3 separate regions of the Homo sapiens genome follow, and regions 2 and 3 are each linked to region 1. Evidence: promoter capture Hi-C in human tissues and cell types (Jung and others, 2019). All regions are on one chromosome and are shown on one strand. The core of a region is centred on a gene start or on the middle of the fragment in contact, and the rest is flanking DNA. Distances in the headings are between cores, read along the strand shown. Region 1 holds the start of CASP10 (caspase 10). Region 2 overlaps ORC2 (origin recognition complex subunit 2). Region 3 overlaps CLK1 (CDC like kinase 1).

Region 1 (3,689 bases), core at 1,150-3,649:
GAATTCAATTCACCTTGATTTCTCCCAAATCAAAATGTTCCCAGAGAGAGAAAGTTAAGATGGAGGGACACAGCACAATTTTTCTCAAGCCTGGTAGCCTGATTGGAGCCCTTACATTCATTTCCAGCACGTGGCAGAAATAGCACTTGGCTCTATGCTTTAAGTTTTAGACACAAAGCAATCTGGGGGAGGCAGGGTTATCCTTATGATCTATCAACCCAAAGACAGCAAGGTACCGTGAGGTATGTGTGTTACATCTTAACTTCAGACTGCTACCTGTAAGAGGGCAGGCCTTTATCTTACAGAAAGGGAAGGCATAATCCTAGACCTCAAGCCTGAGCAACATGGCGAGACCTGGTCTCTACTAAAAATACAAAAAATTATCAGGGCATGGTGGCACATGCCTGTGGTCCCAACTACTCAGGAGGCCGAGGATGGAAGGATCATTTGAGCCTGGGGAGCACAGGTTGCAGTGAGCCATGATCATGCCACTGCACTTCACCCTGGGTGACAGAGTGAGACCCTGTTTCAAAAAGAAAAATAAATAAATAAAATATCCTAGACCTCAGGAGGAAAGGGTGGTTTTAGACAAGAGTTGCTCAAATCAGTGTAGGAAGTTAAAAATTACATGAGTCGGCTGCTCTGTCTATGGAGTAGCCATTCTTTTGTTTCTTTACTTCTCTAATAAACTTGTTTTCACTAAAAAAAAACAAATTACATGAGTCAATGTTTCCATCTGATCAGTTTATAAACTATGCTATTCTCTATACTAAATTTCATCATAATCAGAGGAGCAATGCAGTGATAAAATTTTCATTGTAATACTATTTATTCTATAAGCACTTGAGGTATGTAGTCAATATGCAGAACTTGGCTATTTTTAGAAACAAGAAAATACTTTATAAAGGAAGGAACAGGTGGGGTGTCATGGCTTACGCCTATAATCCCAGCACTTTGGGAGGCCAAGGCGGGTGGATCACTTGAGGCCAGGAGTTCAAGACCAGACTGGGCAACGTGGTAAAACCCCATCTCTACAAAAAATACAAAAATTAGCCAGGCATGGTGGTGCACGCCTGTGGTCCCAACTACTCAGAGGGCTGAAGCAGAAGGATCATTTGAGCCCCGGGGATGGAGGTTCCAGTGAGCCATGATTGTGCCACTGCACTCCACCCTGGGTGACAGAGCAAGACCCTGCCTCAAAAACAAAACAAAACAACAACAAAAAAACCTCCTAGACCTCAGAAGGAAAGGGTGATTTTAGACAAGAGTTGCTCAAATCAGCGAAGGAAGATAAAAATTACATGAGTCAATGTTTCCATCTGACTAGTCTATAAACTATGGTATTCTACATACTAAATTTCATTATAATCAGAGAAGCACTTCAGGAGACTGAGGCAGGTGGATCACTGTGAGGCCAGGAATTCGGGACAAGCCTGGGCAACACGGTGAAACCCCGTCTCTACAAAAAATACAAAAATTAGCTGGGCTTGGTGGTGTATGCCTGTGGTCCCAGCTTCATAGGAAGCTGAGATGGGAGGATTGCTTGAACCTGGGAGGCGGAAGTTGCAGTAAGCCAAGATTGTGCCACTGCACTCCAGCTTGAGTGCTGGAGGGTGAAAGAGGGAGACTCCGTCTCAAATAAATAAATAGATAAATAAATAAATAAATAAATAAATAAATAAAGGAAGGAAGACACAGCAAAAATCAAAACCTCCATAACAAACAGTGGTTATATCGAGGTGACATAACTATAGATAATACAAATTTCCTTCTGGGCTTCCAATTGAATTTCTCAAATTTTATGCATATGTGAGCATACACATTACTTTTGGTGTTAAAAGAAACAAAAAAATGTCATTTTTAATGTGATAATCCAGGGGATCTTCCCTGCTACTAGCCCTGAGGTCAAATGAGTGGTTTATTGGAGACACCTTTCTATTCTACCGCATCTAGCATTTGCCTTGTGGTTTCTTGACAATTCTGATCTCTAGTTTTAGTGAGTCTACCAAACTTTGTCTCTGTGAGCTAACATATTTCTGCCCCGGTAAAAGGCTATGTTGGAGGCTTCCGGATTTTTTAACTTTTGTTTTCCCAGGCATGACAAAGAAATCTAAGAAAAAATAGTGCCATTGCTGACAAGTTTTTGCAAGTTTCTACAACACGAAGCCATGAAGCAAAGGAAAAGATTCAAGCATGAGACTCTGGAGTAAGAAGGGTTGTTAATTACATACCTTCAGATCAAGCTCCACCAATCTTCTGGAAGTAAACGGTTCTCAGGGAAATTGCCTGAAAACAAAGTTTTAAAGAAAGTAGAATCCTCTGTGTGCTCCAAGGTCCAAAGAAGCTCCCATTTGCTTGGGAAGAGACTTCAAGACTTGCTGGTTGTTTAAGTGAAAACTGAATCTTCAGGACTGGGTAGCCTGATACTAGTTTCCTGCTGATGTCATCACTGCTTATCTGCCTTTTTCCCTCCCCTTTTCCAGGGTTAAGATAACTTTGACAAACAGCGTCTCCTAAAGGCTAATTTACAACTTTCTCACTGTAGAGCTTGGGGTTTCCCCAGGTAAAGCAAAAGCTTCCTAGAAACGAACCCGTGGAAGCCACAAAGTGCTTCAGGCTTTCCTTTGGATCTCCATTTCCTTGGTAAGTCAAAAAGGGAAGCATCTGTTTTCCTAACCAACTCCTTCCCCAAACACACTTCACTTTTCAAATAAAGCCAAAAAGCTCATGAAATAGTTGTCGGCCATGTTAACCCTTTCTTATGTCCACATGCAAATAAACAATGGAGCGATCTCCACTTACCGCAACCTCTGCCTCCTGTGTTCAAGTGATTCTCCTGCCTCAACCTCCCGAGTAGCTGGGATTACAAGCATGCGCCACCACGCCCGGCTAATTTTTTGTATTTTTAGTAGAGACGAGGTTTCACCATGTTGGCCAGGCTGGTCTCGAACTCCTGAGCTTGTGATCCACCCTCCTTGGCCTCCCAAAGTGCTGGGATTACAGGCATGGAGCCACCGTGCCCGGCCCACAAATAAAATTTTTAAAAGATAAAAGAAAAGTGGGGATTCACTTTCAGTCTTTGTGGGAGAAATTAAGAAATAAAAAGAAAAAGAAAGGAAAAAAAAAAGAAAAGTGGGGATGGTGAATTACAAGCCCATTTGGAGGTACCTGCAAGAGACTCAACAAATTTGTGGTAGGCAAAACTGACAGTATGTGTTCTCACAGCACATTCAAACCAGCAGGAAAGTGAGACTTTGAAGACATTATTTCTAATCATAAAAACAATACTGCACACTAATATTGCAACTACCATGTGCCAGGGCATTTACAAATATTTACTCATTTCACCATCCCAACAACACTGTAAGATAAATACTATTACTATGACTGCTGCTTTAACATGTGAAAACTAAGGCACAGAAAGGTTAATTAATTTGCCCAAGGTCACACAGTGAGCGGCTGGAAGAGCCAAGATTTAAACCAGCAAGTTTGGATCAAAGTCACTACACTATAATTAAGCTAACTCAAATGTGCAGCACTCTGGAAAGAGGTACAGAGTCTTAGAAAGATGTTTTATCTATGGGGAAAAAAAGCAAGATTTATGATGCTTTGATTAGCAAATGTATTAAAATGTCCTTTCCATGTCCTAGGCATCATTCAGAGAACTTCTGTGCTTAAGAAAGACAAGT
Region 2 (3,901 bases), core at 793-3,292, 260 kb after region 1:
TTTTTCATTTGTTTTTGCTGCCCTCTTATATTACCTATTACCTGTACATCTTTGCTATTCTTTTCTGTTTTCTTTTAGCCACAACTTAGGCAAAAAACAATGAATTAGATATACTCAAGTACCAGTAGAATTTTTAAAAGTTATTTTTTAAACTTTTGGGAAATCCAAATTCATTTTTAATTTATAAAAAAAGGTTTGATTTTCTAGTTGTATATGACAATAAATTGTAATTAATGTGGTACCTCTTCCACATTCATGATATAGGTCCTGAATTCTATAACAGAAGAAGTCCTCGATCATATGGGTACTTTCCGCAGTATACTGGATCAGCTAGACTGGATAGTAAACAAATTTAAAGAAGGTAACATGAAGTAGATGCTCGGTAGTTTTAGAGTAAAGTTAAGCATATACTTCTACTTATTCATGTATTTATATACATACAATATTATTATTATTATTTTTGAGACAGTCTCTCTGTTGCCCAGCCTGGAGTGCAGTGGTGCGATCATGGCTCACTGCAGCCTTGACCTTCTGGGCTCAAGCAATTCTCCCACTTCAGCCTCCCAGGTAGCTCAGATCACAGGCGTGTGCCATTATGCCTGGCTAATTTTTTATTATTTGTAGAGATGAGGTCTCGCTATGTTGCCCAGGATAGTCTTGAACTTCTGGGCTCAAGCAGTCCTCCTGCCTTGGCCTCCCAAAGGGCTGAGATTATAGGTGTGAGCCACCACACCTGGCCCAAAAAGATTATTTTAATAATGGCATTTATCTTGGTGCTCTAAAAAAGTTTGTCCTTTTTCTATGAACTTTTTCCGTGAACTTAACAGGAAAGAAAAATGTTAGTCCCACTTTCTTAAGTTTGTATATCCAAAAGCCTGTTTCTGTTTATAAAACACTCCAAAAGTGCAGTGGCACGATTTTGGCTCACTGCAACCTCCGCCTCCCGGGTTCAAGCAATTCTCCTGCCTCAGCCTCTCAAGTAGCTGGGATTACAGGCGTGCACCACCAAGCCCAGCGAATTTATTTCAGAATAATTTTCAGGTTTTGTTTTGCTTGTGTAAAGTGCCTCCACTTGAGTGGTACAAGTTTGTCTGATATTTTTATATTGTTTAATGTTTTTATAAAACATTATTTCTTGGCTGGGCGCAGTGGCTGACGCCTGTAATCCCAGCACTTTGGGAGGCCGAGCTCAGTGGGTCACCTGAGGTCAGGAGTTCGAGACCAGCCTGGCCAATATGGTGAAACCCCATCTCTACAAAAATACAAAAAAATTAGCCAGGCGTGGTGGCACATGCCTGTAGTCCCAGCTACTTGGGAGGGTGAGGCAGGAGAATTGCTTGAGCCCGGGAGGCAGAGATTGCAGTGAGCCAAGATCATACCACTGCACTCCACCCTGGGTGATAGAGTGAGACTCTATCTAAAAATAAATAAATAAATAAAACATTATTTCTTTATTCTGTGTACATATCATTACATTGAGATAATTTTATATACTAAGATCTCTTGATTCTTTTGGTGTGAATGTTTTGGTTATGTGAGTATGTCAGAAAATTGGAAATAGTATTATATAGTCTCTAACAGTTAATTGCCATTTAGTAATGACTAAATTAAGAATTAAGAGAAGTAATTGAGAATGCCTAACTGCTTTGATGGATAATTTTTTTGATAATGACAATAATCTTAGCTCTGTTCCGTAGTACTTTTATCTTGTCAATATTCTAGCATGTTCTTTAGTTTTGTCTTCATTTTGTTTCCAACCTGAAAAGCTTTCTGTCCCAAATTTCCTTTCACACTCCTACACCCATTTTATCCACAGTTCTTTATAGAAATGGACCGTATACTTTTTTTTTTTAACACAGTCTTGCTCTCTCACCCAGGCTGGAGTCCAGTGGCACAAACACAGCTCACTACATCCTAAATCTCCTGGGCCCAAGTGATCCACCCAACTCAGCCTCCCCATTAGCTGGGACTACAGGCACATATCACCTGCCTGGCTATTGTTAAAATTTTTTGTAGAGATGGAGTCTCACTGTGTTGCCCAGGCTGGTCTCAAACTCCTAGGCCTCAAGGGATACTCCTGCCTGGGCCTTCCAAAGTGCTGGGATTACAGGCATGAGCCCAGCCAGACAATATACATTTTTATACCAACTCTACACATTTGAAAACAGGTAGAGTTGATTCTCATTATTCACAAATTCTATAATAGCAAATTTACCTGCTTGCTAACATTTATTTATAATCCCAAAATCAATATTCTTGGTACTTTTGCAAAGTGAAACATGGCACAGAGTGGCAAAAAGTTTGCATTGCCCAATGTACATATTCTAAGCCGAGGTCAAACAAGGCAATGCTTTGCCTTCTTGTTTCAACTCTCATACTATAAACAAGCATCGTTTTCACAGTCTGTTCAGTGCTACGTTTTTCACATTTTTCTGCTTTTTTGTTGGTGATTTGGCTGTTTAAAATGGCCCGCAAGCATAGTGTTAAAATGCTATCTAGTGTTCCCAAGCACAAGAAGGCTGTGATGTGCCTTGGGGAAAAAATACCTGTGTATATAAACTTCCTTCAGTTATGAGTTACAGTGTTCTTGACTGTGAGTTCCGTGTTAATAGACCAACAGTGTATATTAAAAATAAAGTTGCCCTTAAGCCGGATGCGGTGGCTCACACCTGCAATCCCTTCACTTTGGGAGGCCGAGGCAGGTGGATCACTTGAGGTTAGGAGTTTGAGACCAGCCTGGGCAACATGGTGAAACCCTGTCTCGACAAAAAATACAAAAAACTAGCCGGTCCTGGTGGTGCGCACCTGTAATCCCAGCTAGTCGGGAGGCTGAGACAGGAGAATCGCTTGAACCTGGGAGTTGGAGGTTGCAGTGAGCCAAGATCACATCACTGCACTCCAGCCTGGGCAACAGAGCGAGACTCCGTCTCCAAAAAGAGTAAATAAATAAAAATAAAATTGCCTTTAAACAGAAACACACATAAAACAAAGTTATATATTGAACCTAACCCTGTATTTCCTCTGGGAACAGTGGTTCAGTATTCAATAATTCAGGATTTGCAGCAGCATAGAACTTAATGTAATGAGAGTCAAGTATATATTTCCCAGAACCCTAAAACTACTGCATATGTGAACATATCTTATTCATTGATTATGTGGGCATATAGTGAATTACTAGCAGGTTATTGTAAGAGAAACAAATCTGTTTGGTTTGTTTTCAGTTCTTTCAACCTTATTATTTAATTAAAAATCAATTGCTGCAATATTTATTCCTATAATAATTTTGCCTTGTTTTTCTGAATTGTCTTTAGTTTTCAACATAAGTTCTCCTACTTAAAGAATAACAGAAGCATTGCTTTTTATTCCCTTACCACAGATCCTTGTAAGAGCCCAGTATTGTTCGTATGCTCATTAAAATAGATGCCTAAGTCACTTTATATTTGTGTGCGTCTGTGTGTATACATACGTTTGGTTTTGGGTGTTTTTGGTTTTGATACTGTTAAATATGATGACGTCTAGATTTCAGGGAACCTGGGATTTTCACAATGTGTCATCTCAGAATCTTTGTCACTGTATTGTCTCTCTTACCCATCTACCCCCGAGTAGAAGAGAAATTAACTCACTCTCTGAAAGACTTATACTCTATCACGTATGCCAAGTCTCCAGAGAGACTTATCAATACCTGTGGCTTTTAAATATACATTAAAAATAAAAGTTACCTGATTCTGCTGCCCTTTCACACTATTTTATTTTTCTGTTTCATACGGTTTCAGTATTTTGGAAGACATGTCCTGCCTTCAATTTTTTTTTTTTTTTTTTTTACCTATTTCATTCTAATGTCTTTCCTCTGTGCTATCAGAACTGTATGCTTGATCACCTGTAACTTTCTTCTTACCAAGCC
Region 3 (3,976 bases), core at 649-3,148, 330 kb after region 1:
CGCTGTGTCCAGATGTTGGAATGGTTTGAGCATCATGGTCACATTTGCATTGTTTTTGAACTATTGGGACTTAGTACTTACGACTTCATTAAAGAAAATGGTTTTCTACCATTTCGACTGGATCATATCAGAAAGATGGCATATCAGATATGCAAGTCTGTGAATTGTAAGTTCTTGGTATATCTTCGTTAATTTGCTGGTTTTATCCATTCCACATATCAAAATGTGCATCCTAAGTGTGTACAATTTTTATTTGATTAAAAATAAAGGGGGAGGAAGAATAGGTATGAAGAGATTTGATTACAGGCTGTTGATCCAGCAGTGTACATTTCATTCAGCAAGTAGGATATCCACCATATAACAACGTACTTTGTTGCAGACTATGATTTAGACTTTTCTGATGCGCAAAAATAGTAACTTCGAATGCTGGGTAAAAATTAAGGCGTGATATATCTCATAAAAGAAAGCTTCATAAGAGGTAGTAAGTTTTAGTTACTGGTGATTTTCTAGCAGACTGGAATGTTGACCATTCTTTGGGAAAGGAATCAGAGGTTTTTTGTTGGGTTTTTTTGTTTTTTGAAATGGAGTCTCGCTTTGTTGTTCAGGCTGAAGTGCAGTGGCGCAGTCTTCACTCACTGCAAACTCTGCCTCCCCAGTTCAAGTGATTCTCCTGCCTCAGCCTCCCGAGTAGCTAGGACTACAGGCACACGCCACCACACCCGGCCAATTTTTGTAATTTTGGTAGAGACAGGGTTTCACCATATTGGTCAGGCTGGTCTCGAACTCCTGACCTCAGGTGATTACAGGCGTGAGCCACTGCACCCGGCCTGTTGTGGGGTTTTGTGATTTGGTTTGGTTTGGTGTTTTCTGATTACAGCAACTTTCTCTTTATTCTCAGTTTTGCACAGTAATAAGTTGACTCACACAGACTTAAAGCCTGAAAACATCTTATTTGTGCAGTCTGACTACACAGAGGCGTATAATCCCAAAATAGTAAGTCTTCCAAAATATTCATAAAGTATCTTATGCCTTAATAGCTTATGCCTTCTTAACCATCATTTATGATTTTCAGAAACGTGATGAACGCACCTTAATAAATCCAGATATTAAAGTTGTAGACTTTGGTAGTGCAACATATGATGACGAACATCACAGTACATTGGTATCTACAAGACATTATAGAGCACCTGAAGTTATTTTAGGTGAGTATTAATTGTCCTTTGAGAACCTTTGTATTTCCTTATTGAGACTTAAAATTTTTTTAGCAGTTTTAGGTCTTACTTGTGGGGCTTTATCATATTCTCTTTAAGGGATAAGTATCATGAAGTGCATTATGGATTTTAAGCTCTCAATTGTACCAGATAATTAGCTCTGGGAATTTGAGCAAGTGGCTTAACCTTTCTGGAATTGTTTTCACATTTGTAATATGTGGTAGGGTTTTTAAATGTAATTGTTTAATGCCAGGTGGGGCGCGGTGGCTCACATCTGTAATCTCAGCACTTTGGGAGGCCAAGGGTGGGGCGCGGTGGCTCACATCTGTAATCCCAGCACTTTGGGAGGCCAAGGCGGGCAGACCACATGGTCAGGAAATCGAGACCATCCTGGCTAATATGGTGAAACCCCATCTCTACTAAAAATACAAAAAATTAGCTGGGTGTGGTGGTACACGTCAGTAGTTCCAGCTACTCAGGAGGCTGAGGCAGAATTGCTTGAACACCGGGAGGCGGAGGTTGCAGTGAGCCAAGATTGCGCCACTGCACTCCGGCCTGGGCGACAGAGCGAGACTCCATCTCAGAAAATTGTTTAATGCCTATTTTATTCCAGACTATATATAACACTATATAATTTATTTATTTTTATCATTTATTTATTTTTTAGACGGAGACTTACTCTGTCGCCCAGGCTGGAGTGCAGTGGTGCAATCTTGGCTCACTGCAACTTCTGCCTCCTGGGTTCAAGCAATTCTCCTGCCTCAGCCTCCTGAGTAGCTGGGATTATAGGCACCCACCACCACACCCGGTTAATTTTCTTATTTTTGGTAGAGATGGGGTTTTTACCATGTTGGCAGGCTGGTCTCAAACTGCTGACCTGGAGCAATCTGCCTGCCTTGGCTTTGCAAAGTGCTGGGATTACAGGCATAAGCCACTGCGCCCGGCCATATATATTGTATTTAACCTTGGATTAAGTGATTGCTTTAGGATCTTCCAGCTCAAACATCACATTGCATATATATGTGTATATATATAATTTTTTGGGGGGGGGGCGGAGTCTTGCTCTGTCACCCAGGCTAGAGTGCAGTGGCGCGATCTCGGCTCACCGCAAGCTCCGCCTATGGGGTTCACTCCATTGTCCCACCTCAGCCTCCTGAGTAGCTGGGACTACAGGTGCCTGCCACCATGCCTGGCTAATTTTGTTTTTGTATTTTTAGTAGAGACGGAGTTTCACCGTGTAGTCAGGATGGTCTTGATCTCCTGCCCTCGTGTTCCACCTGCCTCAGCCTCCCAAAGGGCTGGGATTATGCCTGTAGCGTGAGCCACTGTGCCCGGCCAATTCAGATATATATATATCTTAATAGAGGTGGGATCTCGCTGTGTTGCCCAGGCTGGTCTTGAACTCCTGAGCTCAAGCAGTTCTCCCATCTTGGCCTCCCAAAGTGCTGGGATTACAGGTGTGAGCCACTGTGCCCAGCCTACATTACATGTGTTTTTTTTTTTAAAGTATTAGTGTTAACTAACTTTTTAATTTCTTTAACAAACATTGAGTATTTTTTTTCCTTAAATTTTGCTTTGCTTTGCAGCCCTAGGGTGGTCCCAACCATGTGATGTCTGGAGCATAGGATGCATTCTTATTGAATACTATCTTGGGTTTACCGTATTTCCAGTAAGTGACAATGATCTATTTCAACCTTGCTTTGCACAAGAAAGGTGCCTGTTTATATGAATAAATACTTTTGCTTCCCCCATTATAGACTATTAATTGTAGATAAGCATAAATAAACTAATTCATATTTCTTTCATAATTGTTTTATTTAAAACATCTTTCAGTATATAAGCAATTATCCGTGTCCATGTAGGGAATCATTGGCGAGTTTGTTCTGCAAGCCTTAATGTTAGTTTTTTTGCTGTCAGCTTTAACTGTGTCTGTTTTGGTGGTCATCTTCCCCAAGTCTGTTTTTATTTTATTTCTAGACACACGATAGTAAGGAGCATTTAGCAATGATGGAAAGGATTCTTGGACCTCTACCAAAACATATGATACAGAAAACCAGGTACGTTTTAAGAGTTAGTGACATCCTTAGTATCATTTGATCACATCTGCTGATTAGAACTTAATTTTTTTTTTTTTTTTGAGATGGAGTCTTGCTCTGTTGCCCAGGCTGGAGTGCAGTGGCGTGACCTCGGCTCAATGCAAGCTCTCCCTCCTGGGTTCACGCCATTTTCCTGTCTCAGCCTCCCGAGTAGCTGGGACTACAGGCACTCGCCACCACGCCCGCCTAATTTTTTTGTATTTTTAGTAGAGACAAGGTTTCACCATGTTAGCCAGGATGGTCTCGATCTCCTGACCTTGTGATCCGCCCACCTCGGCCTCCCAAAGTGCTGAGATTACAGGCGTGAGCCACCGCACCTGGCCAGAACTTAATTTTTTTTTTTAAATTTTCACTCTACCAAGTCTCAGGCGCTGATTAGGACTTTATAAATAATGAAGTCAAACTAATATTTTTTCAGTTAAATAGTAGATTACCTTGGTGCAAAGCAGGTAACATTTCTATCCCATGGCTGCCATTTAAATCTCTAGAAAAGTGATCTGGGAAAGCATAGTAATTGATACCTTTGCTAGCTGTTTTAAGTTTTCAGTGTTATAAACATGAATGGATATTGACTTATTTTTAGGAAACGTAAATATTTTCACCACGATCGATTAGACTGGGATGAACACAGTTCTGCCGGCAGATATGTTTCAAGACGCTGTAAACCTC

What was found. Contacts are between HindIII fragments. The study calls those that stand out against the background at their distance.
Region 2: a contact is called between a fragment that was not itself captured here and the fragment with the promoter of CASP10 in region 1, in 2 of the 25 tissues and cell types used here (heart left ventricle and lymphoblastoid cells).
Region 3: a contact is called between a fragment that was not itself captured here and the fragment with the promoter of CASP10 in region 1, in 1 of the 25 tissues and cell types used here (H1 embryonic stem cells).

What each region holds. Positions count from the first base shown.
Region 1 is chr2:201,181,851-201,185,539 of GRCh38, reverse strand. It overlaps CASP10 (caspase 10), which reads right to left and starts at 2,399. Exons shown (of 10, transcript NM_032977.4): 1 at 2,232-2,399. The HindIII fragment of the contact is 16,206 bases long and covers 1,135-3,689 here.
Region 2 is chr2:200,922,296-200,926,196 of GRCh38, reverse strand. It overlaps ORC2 (origin recognition complex subunit 2), which reads left to right. Exons shown (of 18, transcript NM_006190.5): 13 at 265-361. Among named protein-coding and RNA genes, the nearest start is that of NIF3L1, 35 kb to the right of the region's middle. The HindIII fragment of the contact is 4,547 bases long and covers 1-3,901 here.
Region 3 is chr2:200,853,908-200,857,883 of GRCh38, reverse strand. It overlaps CLK1 (CDC like kinase 1), which reads left to right. Exons shown (of 13, transcript NM_004071.4): 7 at 1-166; 8 at 899-993; 9 at 1,073-1,202; 10 at 2,798-2,880; 11 at 3,189-3,268; 12 at 3,891-3,976. Among named protein-coding and RNA genes, the nearest start is that of CLK1, 8.8 kb to the left of the region's middle. The HindIII fragment of the contact is 5,508 bases long and covers 1-3,976 here.